2 separate regions of the Homo sapiens genome follow, and region 2 is linked to region 1. The links are contacts of gene promoters, found by promoter capture Hi-C in blood cells and fetal thymus (Javierre and others, 2016). All regions are on one chromosome and are shown on one strand. The core of a region is centred on a gene start or on the middle of the fragment in contact, and the rest is flanking DNA. Distances in the headings are between cores, read along the strand shown. Region 1 holds the start of SLC39A6 (solute carrier family 39 member 6). Region 2 has its middle 8.2 kb from the start of FHOD3.

Region 1 (4,022 bases), core at 1-2,500:
TCCCCTATGACCTTTCCCCCAAACTGACACTTTCTCTAAAATGTCCATTCCCGTAGCTAAAACACAGGTAACATTTCCTTGAAATTCAATACAACAAAAGTTCATTAACCAAAACTGAAGGAAATACTGAAATGAGATTGCACCTGTGGGATGATGGTTTTAATCTACATATAAATTTCAATTGTTTTAAAACCCAAATTGATTAACGGTACTACAGTTCCCAAGGAAGGCTTCAGGTAAGATGCTTATCATTCGGGTTTCTGCGTGGGACTAACAGGTTACTAGCAGCTCATGGGCAGCAATGACCCTAGGATGACGCCACGCGTGAGACGGCAAAGGGTGAGGGGTGAGGAGCGAGTCCGGCAGGTCCACTGGAGACTCCGAGCCCAAACCCCGCTCCCCTGAGCCGACCCGACTCGCCTCCTAGGTCTGGGGCGGCAACTAACAGCGCGCCCGGAGCACGTCCACAGGTTCAACCCGAAAAGCACAAGGGTCGGCCGTCCAGCGACCTCTCTTACCAGGGGGTCATAGAGCACCACGGAGCAGGACGTGCCAAAGGCCAGAAGTCCTCTGGGCCCAGAGCTCCAGTTCAGGACTCCCCGCACCCGGTTTGGGCAGCAAAACACGTGAGAAGTCTCCAGCACGGGTGCCACCATGTCGCCAACTGGTCAGCCGCACAAACAAGAGACGCGCACTTCCGCCCTCGGAGCGGAACTACTAGGGTGGTTTCTCCTGAGGCATCACCCAGTCCACGTTTCGCAGCCAGCCGAGGGCCAGACGGAGGCAGCCCCGCCCCCCTGAGACTCTCCGTTCCCACCGCAGGCTGGAACCCCTGTGCAAGGCCGCCGCTTTGCTAGCTCTGCTCTTGGACCGTGGCCCCGCTCCGCGAACGAGCCAGGCCTTTGTCTCAAGAGCGAAATCCGACCCGAGTGGCTCGGGACCCTCCCGAAGGACCCGGGGCTCATGTGCCTGGGGCAGCGTCAGAAACATCTCGCTGCCCCTTACGACCCGGCTCCCAGCAGCAGCCAGGGCTGGCCCCGGGGGCGCTGGCTAGCGAGTAGGGCCTCGAGGAAATGACCCCCAACTGCTTACAATGCGCTAGGGCCGCGCCACGCCCCCGCGGCGTCGGCGAACACACGGAAAAGCGGATCCGTCTGCGGAGCCGGGTTCCGGGGTCGCACTGCGCATGCCCTGCAGTCCTGGGCGAAGGGGGCGGTGGTTCCCCGCGGCGCTGCGCGCGGCGGTAATTAGTGATTGTCTTCCAGCTTCGCGAAGGCTAGGGGCGCGGCTGCCGGGTGGCTGCGCGGCGCTGCCCCCGGACCGAGGGGCAGCCAACCCAATGAAACCACCGCGTGTTCGCGCCTGGTAGAGATTTCTCGAAGACACCAGTGGGCCCGTTCCGAGCCCTCTGGACCGCCCGTGTGGAACCAAACCTGCGCGCGTGGCCGGGCCGTGGGACAACGAGGCCGCGGAGACGTGAGTCTTTCAGGTCCGGGAGCAGGGCGGCTGGGAGGGGAGCTCCTCAGGCCAGACAGGCGTGGCGGGGTAGGGGTGGTTCTGCGGAGAACCGGATCCTGCGGACCGGGCAGGGGGGCTACAGAAAGAGGATGCTGGGGGGAGCCCGCCGCAGGCGCCCACTCACCCTAGAGAGCCGGACTTCTTAAGGTGCTCAGATGGGCTTCGGGGTGCAACGGAGGATTTTTTGAGGAAAAGATCCGTACTTTTCATCCCATATTCGAAGAAGGGACTGACGTGTTTAGAAATAAAAAGCTTTTAGAAGAGAGCTTTGTGCCCTCTTTTCCGTTTTCTGTACTCGCCTTTTTCTCTAAGGCCCTTCCCTTCTGCTTTCCTTTTTCCTCCAGCACACACCAACTTGCAGGAAAGGAGATCCTTCAACGGGTCCACGACCGCGCTCAGCATCCTCCCTGGAGAAAGGCTCGGAGCTGTCCCCTGTGCTAGTCCCCTCCCACCCCGCTCCTCGCCTCTCTCCTGGGAATGATTTCTAAATGTTTATCTTTTACCTAGTAAAAGAATTCCCGAAACTTCAAGCCCCAAAGATTCCTCTTTCAGGAGCCTCGTTCTACGCCGTACCTCCATTTCCCACTGTTCCCTGTATGATACCTCGCACTTGTGCAACACATGAGTTTAACGAGTACTTGTAATATACATTCCTTCATGTGTTTTCCTCCTTCGCCTTGCAAAATAGGTTTTACCGGTATTTTAGATAAGGTAATGAATGCGAGAGCCCTGTCCAAAGAACAGCTGACCGTGGTAGAGCTGGATAGCCCCATGCTCTTGCTTAGTTGTAAACTTGACGTCTGCGTCTTTTGCTGGAGATGTGAGTTTGACCACCATCACCTCCACCGTTGGTGCTGGACATCCTGCTGGATCTGAATTAACTGAATTCTGGCTCTGCTTAACTGAATTCTGCTTTTCAAGCTCCAACTCAATTGCTTCCTCCTCTTTGGGGCACAGGCCTTTGGTTCCAAACACTACTGTGGATGATTAACAGCCTGTGATTAAATGTTGACTGGTTTGTAGTAACACAAGGATGCTACAGTGAGTTTTTCATGAAGTTCAGTTTACTTTAAGAATTCTATGTATGGACATAATGTGTCTGATTCATTGTCAAGTCGGAAAAAAGATTCAATGTGTATTTAAAGTATACACTTATTTGAGGCTGGGCGTAGTGGTCACGCCTGTAATCCCAGCACTTTGGGAATTGGAGGTGGAGGATCTCTTGAGGCCAGGAGTTCAAGACCAACCCGGACAACATAGTGAGACCTCGTCTCTAGAAAAAAAAAAAAAAAACTTTAAAAAAAAAATTAAGTATACATGTATTTGAGTATGCATAGAAAATATCCTGAGGGATACACTGGCAAAATTGAGCACCTTTGAGGATTGTGATTGGGGAAAGGGGTCTTAAATGGGCTTGTATGTAAGGAGAGTGTATTAGTTTAAAATTTTTTAAATATGTGAATTCTGAGATTATTATTTCTATTTTTTGGTGTTTGAAGGTTATTTTATGAAATGATGGTGATGATCAAGGTAGCTAGATTTCATTTCGTTCTTTTTTTTTTTTGAGACAGGGTTTCACAATGTTGCCCAGGCTGGTCACAAACTCCTGGCCTCAGGTGATCTGCCTGCCTCAGCCTCCCAAAGTGCTGGGATTATAGGCATGAGCCACCACACCCAGCCTAGATTTAATTATGAATCATTGGCCTCAATGATTCAAATAATCGTTCAAATAAATTCTCAACTTCAGTAAGCAGTTGATGGCTGTGGCCACATGGATCTCCCTTGTCTCTGAATTACTATTGCTTTTACAGTGCTAATGGCAGTCTCTTAGCACTCAGCTCTTCTCCAGTTGTTTCATGTGTTTTAGGAATGCAAGGGTAGAGCCTAGGACTCTAGTTCTTTCCATCTTCACAGTACCTAGCGTCACACTGGTCACACCACATGATGCTCTGGCAACTTTGATTATTTGATTACACATTAATTTTCAGTATGAGGTTTCTTAATTCAATTTGTTTTAGAAGTGAGTCAAGAATTTTTTTTTCCTGTCTTTTCTAGGAAGGCGCAATGGCGAGGAAGTTATCTGTAATCTTGATCCTGACCTTTGCCCTCTCTGTCACAAATCCCCTTCATGAACTAAAAGCAGCTGCTTTCCCCCAGACCACTGAGAAAATTAGTCCGAATTGGGAATCTGGCATTAATGTTGACTTGGCAATTTCCACACGGCAATATCATCTACAACAGCTTTTCTACCGCTATGGAGAAAATAATTCTTTGTCAGTTGAAGGGTTCAGAAAATTACTTCAAAATATAGGCATAGATAAGATTAAAAGAATCCATATACACCATGACCACGACCATCACTCAGACCACGAGCATCACTCAGACCATGAGCGTCACTCAGACCATGAGCATCACTCAGAGCACGAGCATCACTCTGACCATGATCATCACTCTCACCATAATCATGCTGCTTCTGGTAAAAATAAGCGAAAAGCTCTTTGCCC
Region 2 (4,022 bases), core at 677-3,176, 160 kb before region 1:
CTCTAAAAGGGGAAGAGGAAGGAGGCAAAGGTTGAAAAGCTACCTATTTTGTTTACTGAATACCATCTCAATACTGTATTCACTGTTTGGGTGATGGTTTCACTAGAATCCCAAACCTCAACATTATGCAATATACCCACATAACAAAACTGTACCTGAATTAATAATAAAATAAAACTAAAGACCAGGCGTGGTGGCTTACACCTGTAATCCCAGCACTTTGGGAGGCTGAGGCAGGTGGATCTCCAGGTCAGGAGATCAAGACCATCCTGGCTAACACGGTGAAACCCCGTCTCTACTAAAAATACAAAAAATTAGCCGGGCGTGGTGGCAGACGCCTGTAGTCCCAGCTACTAGGGAGGCTGAGGCAGGAGAATGGCGTGAACCCAGGAGGTGGAGCTTGCAGTCAGCCGAGATCATGCCACTGCACTCCAGCCTGGGCAACAGAACGAGACTCCGTCTCAAAAAAAAAAAAAAAAAAACTAAAATTAATTAAAAAAAAAAAACTAAAGTAAGAAAGTTTCTCTGCTGCAAACACGGCAGCCATTACCTTTGGAAAAGGAAGGTTCTATCAGAGCATGGGAACTAAGGATCGTGGGGAACAAAAAACTTGGAAACCATCCCAGGAAGCAGAACTGGGCCGTAGTCTCCTGGAGTAAGAGAAACTGGCAACATGTGTCTGGCTGGAGTTCAGCATTGCTATGAATCAATGACTGCTGTGTGTCTTCCAATCTGTCTATTTTTTATTTTATTATTATTATTATTGAGATGGGTCTCACTCTGTCACCCAGGCTGGAGTGCAGTGGCGTGATCTTGGCTCACAGCAACCTTCACCTCCTGGAGATTCTCGTGCCTCAGCCTCCCAAGTAGTTGGGATTACAAGTGCACACCACTTCACCTATCTAATTTTTGTGTTTTTAGTAGAGGCGGGGTTTCACCAGTTGGCCAGGCTGGTCTCTAACTCCCGGGCTCAAACAACCCACCCACCTCAGCCTCCCAAAGTGCTAGAATCACAGGTGTAAGCCACCACACCTGGCCCCAGTCTGTCTATTTTTAAATGTGAGTGCCTCTTGAAGTTATTCTGTCCCAATTTCACCATTGCATATTGAGTGTGAAAGGGCTATACACTTTGTCTTTTACGGTAACAGGTCTCTGCATCAGAGCAGTTGTACCCGAGGAGAAAGTCCTCATCTGCATGCAGATTCAAATAATGGTTTCCTCACCACTTTCCCAGCCTCTGCCCCCTGCCCAGTCCTAAAACCACTGTCACACAATTTAGGGGTTTGTTATGGTAGCACTCTACTTCTAGGTACCAATTCCTGTTTTATTTAGTCTTTGTTGTATAAGAAACCACTCCAAAATGTAGTAGCTTAAAATAACAACCATTTTATTTTCTTTTGATTCTGTGGATCAGCAATTTGATCTGGTCTCACCTGAGATCGTTCATGTAGTTGCAGTCATCTAGAAGCTTGACTGGGACTGGTGGGACTAAAATAGCCTCCTTCCATGCCTGGTAATGTACGCTGGCTGTCAGCTGGCTGGTCCAGATGGGGGCTTCAGTTAGAATGGTTCATCTCTCCTTGGGTTTCTCATCTAATAGGCTAGACCTGGCTTCTTTACACTGGTAGACTTAGGATAGCATTCTAAGAGGTCAACAGTGGAAGCTGCAAGATCTCTTGAGACCTGGGCTTAGAAATTATGCTGTATCAGTTTTGCTACTCTTTTTTTTTTTTTGGTTGAAATAAGTTAAGATCAGCTTAGATTCAAGAAGTGGGGAAATAGATTCCACTCCCTGATGGGAGAAGTGAAATCACATTGCAAAGAGGTACACGTACCCAGATATGAAGAAATGTTGTAGTCATCTCTGAAACAATATAACACATATGTTATACAATTCTAGGTTAAAATGATTTTTACTCAGAATTTTGAGGCATTGCTTCATTGTCTTCTAATTTTTCTTGTTGCTTTAGACTATTTGTGCTGTGGTATAGCTGGCCCTCTGTGTCTGTGGGCTCTGCATCCATGGAGTCAACCTACACAGATTGGAAATATTCAAAAAAAGAATGAATGCTTGCATCTATACTAAACATGTACAGACTTTTTTTATTTGTCATTATTTCCTAAACAACACAACAGCTATTTACATAACATTTACATGATATTAGATATTATAAGTAATCTACAGATGATTTAAAGTATACAGGAGGATATGCATAGGTTATGTTAAATACTACACCATTTTATGTGAAGGACTTGAGCACCCACGGATTTTGGTATCCAAGGGAGGTCCTGGAACCAAACAACCATGAATATCAAGGGGCAACTGTATAGGTAACTCTACATTGTATAGGTAACTTTTTTCCCCTCTCTCTTTGGAAGCTTTTTGAACCTTCTCATTATTCCCAATATACTGAAATTCCATGATGAGGTGCCCTGGTGGGGATTCTTTTTCATTCATCCTGTTGTCATTTTGTGGATATTACTTAATCCAGAGATCCTGCTCTTTGATGCAGAAATGTTCTTATATCCTGTTTTTGATCATTTCCTCTCCACAGTGTTCTCTGCTTGCTCTTCCTAGAACTCCTATTATTCAGATGTTGGATCACTAAGCAGGTTCTCTAATTTTCTTAACTTTTCTGCCCTGTTCATCTCTCTGATTATTTTCTTCTACTTTTTGGGAAATTTCCTAAACTGTATTTCCTTTTCTTCTACTGAATGTTGTATTGCAGCATTCATGTTTTTACTTTTCAAGAATTCTGTCTTGTTCTGTGATTTTTCTTTTTAAAATATCTTGTTCTTATTTCCAGGATTTCCCTGATATTATTAACCACATTTTCTTTAAAGTTTTCTTCTTTTTGCTGCACTGTTTCTGTACACTTTGGGTTCTTCCTTTCTTCTTTTTCTTTCAGTTTTTTTCTTTTATAGTAGACACTTTCCTCAAATGGCATGATCCTTGGCTGTTCATCACATTGAAAGCCAACTGGGAGGCTGGGCAATGTGGCCCACTTCTGTAATCCCAGCACTTTGGGATGCCGAGGCAGGCGGATCACTTGAGGTCAGGAGTTTGAGGCCAGCCTGACCAATGTGGTGAAACCCTGTCTCTACTAAAACTACGAAAAATAGCTGGGTGTGGTGGCAGGCGCCTGTAATCCCAGCTACTTGGGAAGCTGGGGCAGGAAAATCGCTTGAACCTGGGAGGCAGAGGTTGCAGTGAGCCAGGATTGCACCACTGCACTCCAGCCTGGGCAACAGAGCGAGACTCTGCCTCAAAAAAAAAAAAAAAAAAGAAAAAGAAAAAAGAAAAGAAAGAAAGAAAGCTGATTGGAAGCTCTAGGGTATAATAGAGGCACTTTGCCTGATGGACTCCACTGCAGACCAAACCAGTGGACAAATGGCTTATTTCTTGACTATCTTTAGGTCTTTCCTCTGGGGTAGTTTACTTTCTCCAGAAAAATTTTAACAATACTGCCCTTTGCCCAGAACAAGAAAGGCCCCTGCCTTGGGCTCCATGCTTTGGAGGGCCTCATCCTGGCCCTGCTCCTGCCATCCTTCCCTATAGGGCAAGTCCACAGGACCAAGATGTTATGCCCACCTGGAACCCAAGCTGCTCTCTAGACTATTCTCCAGGCACCAGGACCTCAGATGCCCACATGACTCTGAACATGTCCCCAAGGCCTGTATGTGTGTGTCATTTTCAGAGCATCCGTAGGGGTGCACCCCTAAGCATGAAAAGGGGCTAAATGGCAGCTGATTGCAGGGGAAGGTATGGACAGAGTTTGAATGTATAGTCTCCAGTGTCTACACATCTGGGGTTCACGGCTCAAGGGTGAGAAGAAAATGGCTGTAGGCTATGGCTGGCAACCAGGAGCTGGACCAGCTCTTCCCATGCCATCGTGCTCCTATGCAGAGTGCCAAGGATTTTGTCAGAGTAGGAGGCTAGCACATATTTTAGTTAATATTTCTTATGTTTAATTTATGAATGTTAAATATTTAGACATATGACATATGGGTATCCATTTGAA

What was found. Contacts are between HindIII fragments. The CHiCAGO score rates a contact against its expected background, and 5 or more counts as called.
Region 2: a fragment that was not itself captured here is called in contact with the fragment with the promoter of SLC39A6 in region 1 in 1 of 17 cell types (endothelial precursors); the score reaches 6.8 in endothelial precursors.

What each region holds. Positions count from the first base shown.
Region 1 is chr18:36,126,568-36,130,589 of GRCh38, reverse strand. SLC39A6 (solute carrier family 39 member 6) reads left to right here and starts at 1,250. Exons shown (of 10, transcript NM_012319.4): 1 at 1,250-1,476; 2 at 3,574-4,022. The coding sequence starts at 3,583. It overlaps ELP2 (elongator acetyltransferase complex subunit 2), which reads right to left and starts at 691. Exons shown (of 22, transcript NM_018255.4): 1 at 519-691. The coding sequence starts at 656. RefSeq lists enhancers at 440-649, 441-946, 810-999, 1,030-1,324, 947-1,452. The HindIII fragment of the contact is 4,684 bases long and covers 1-1,772 here.
Region 2 is chr18:36,287,458-36,291,479 of GRCh38, reverse strand. No RefSeq gene overlaps it. Among named protein-coding and RNA genes, the nearest start is that of FHOD3, 8.2 kb to the left of the region's middle. The HindIII fragment of the contact is 911 bases long and covers 1,471-2,381 here.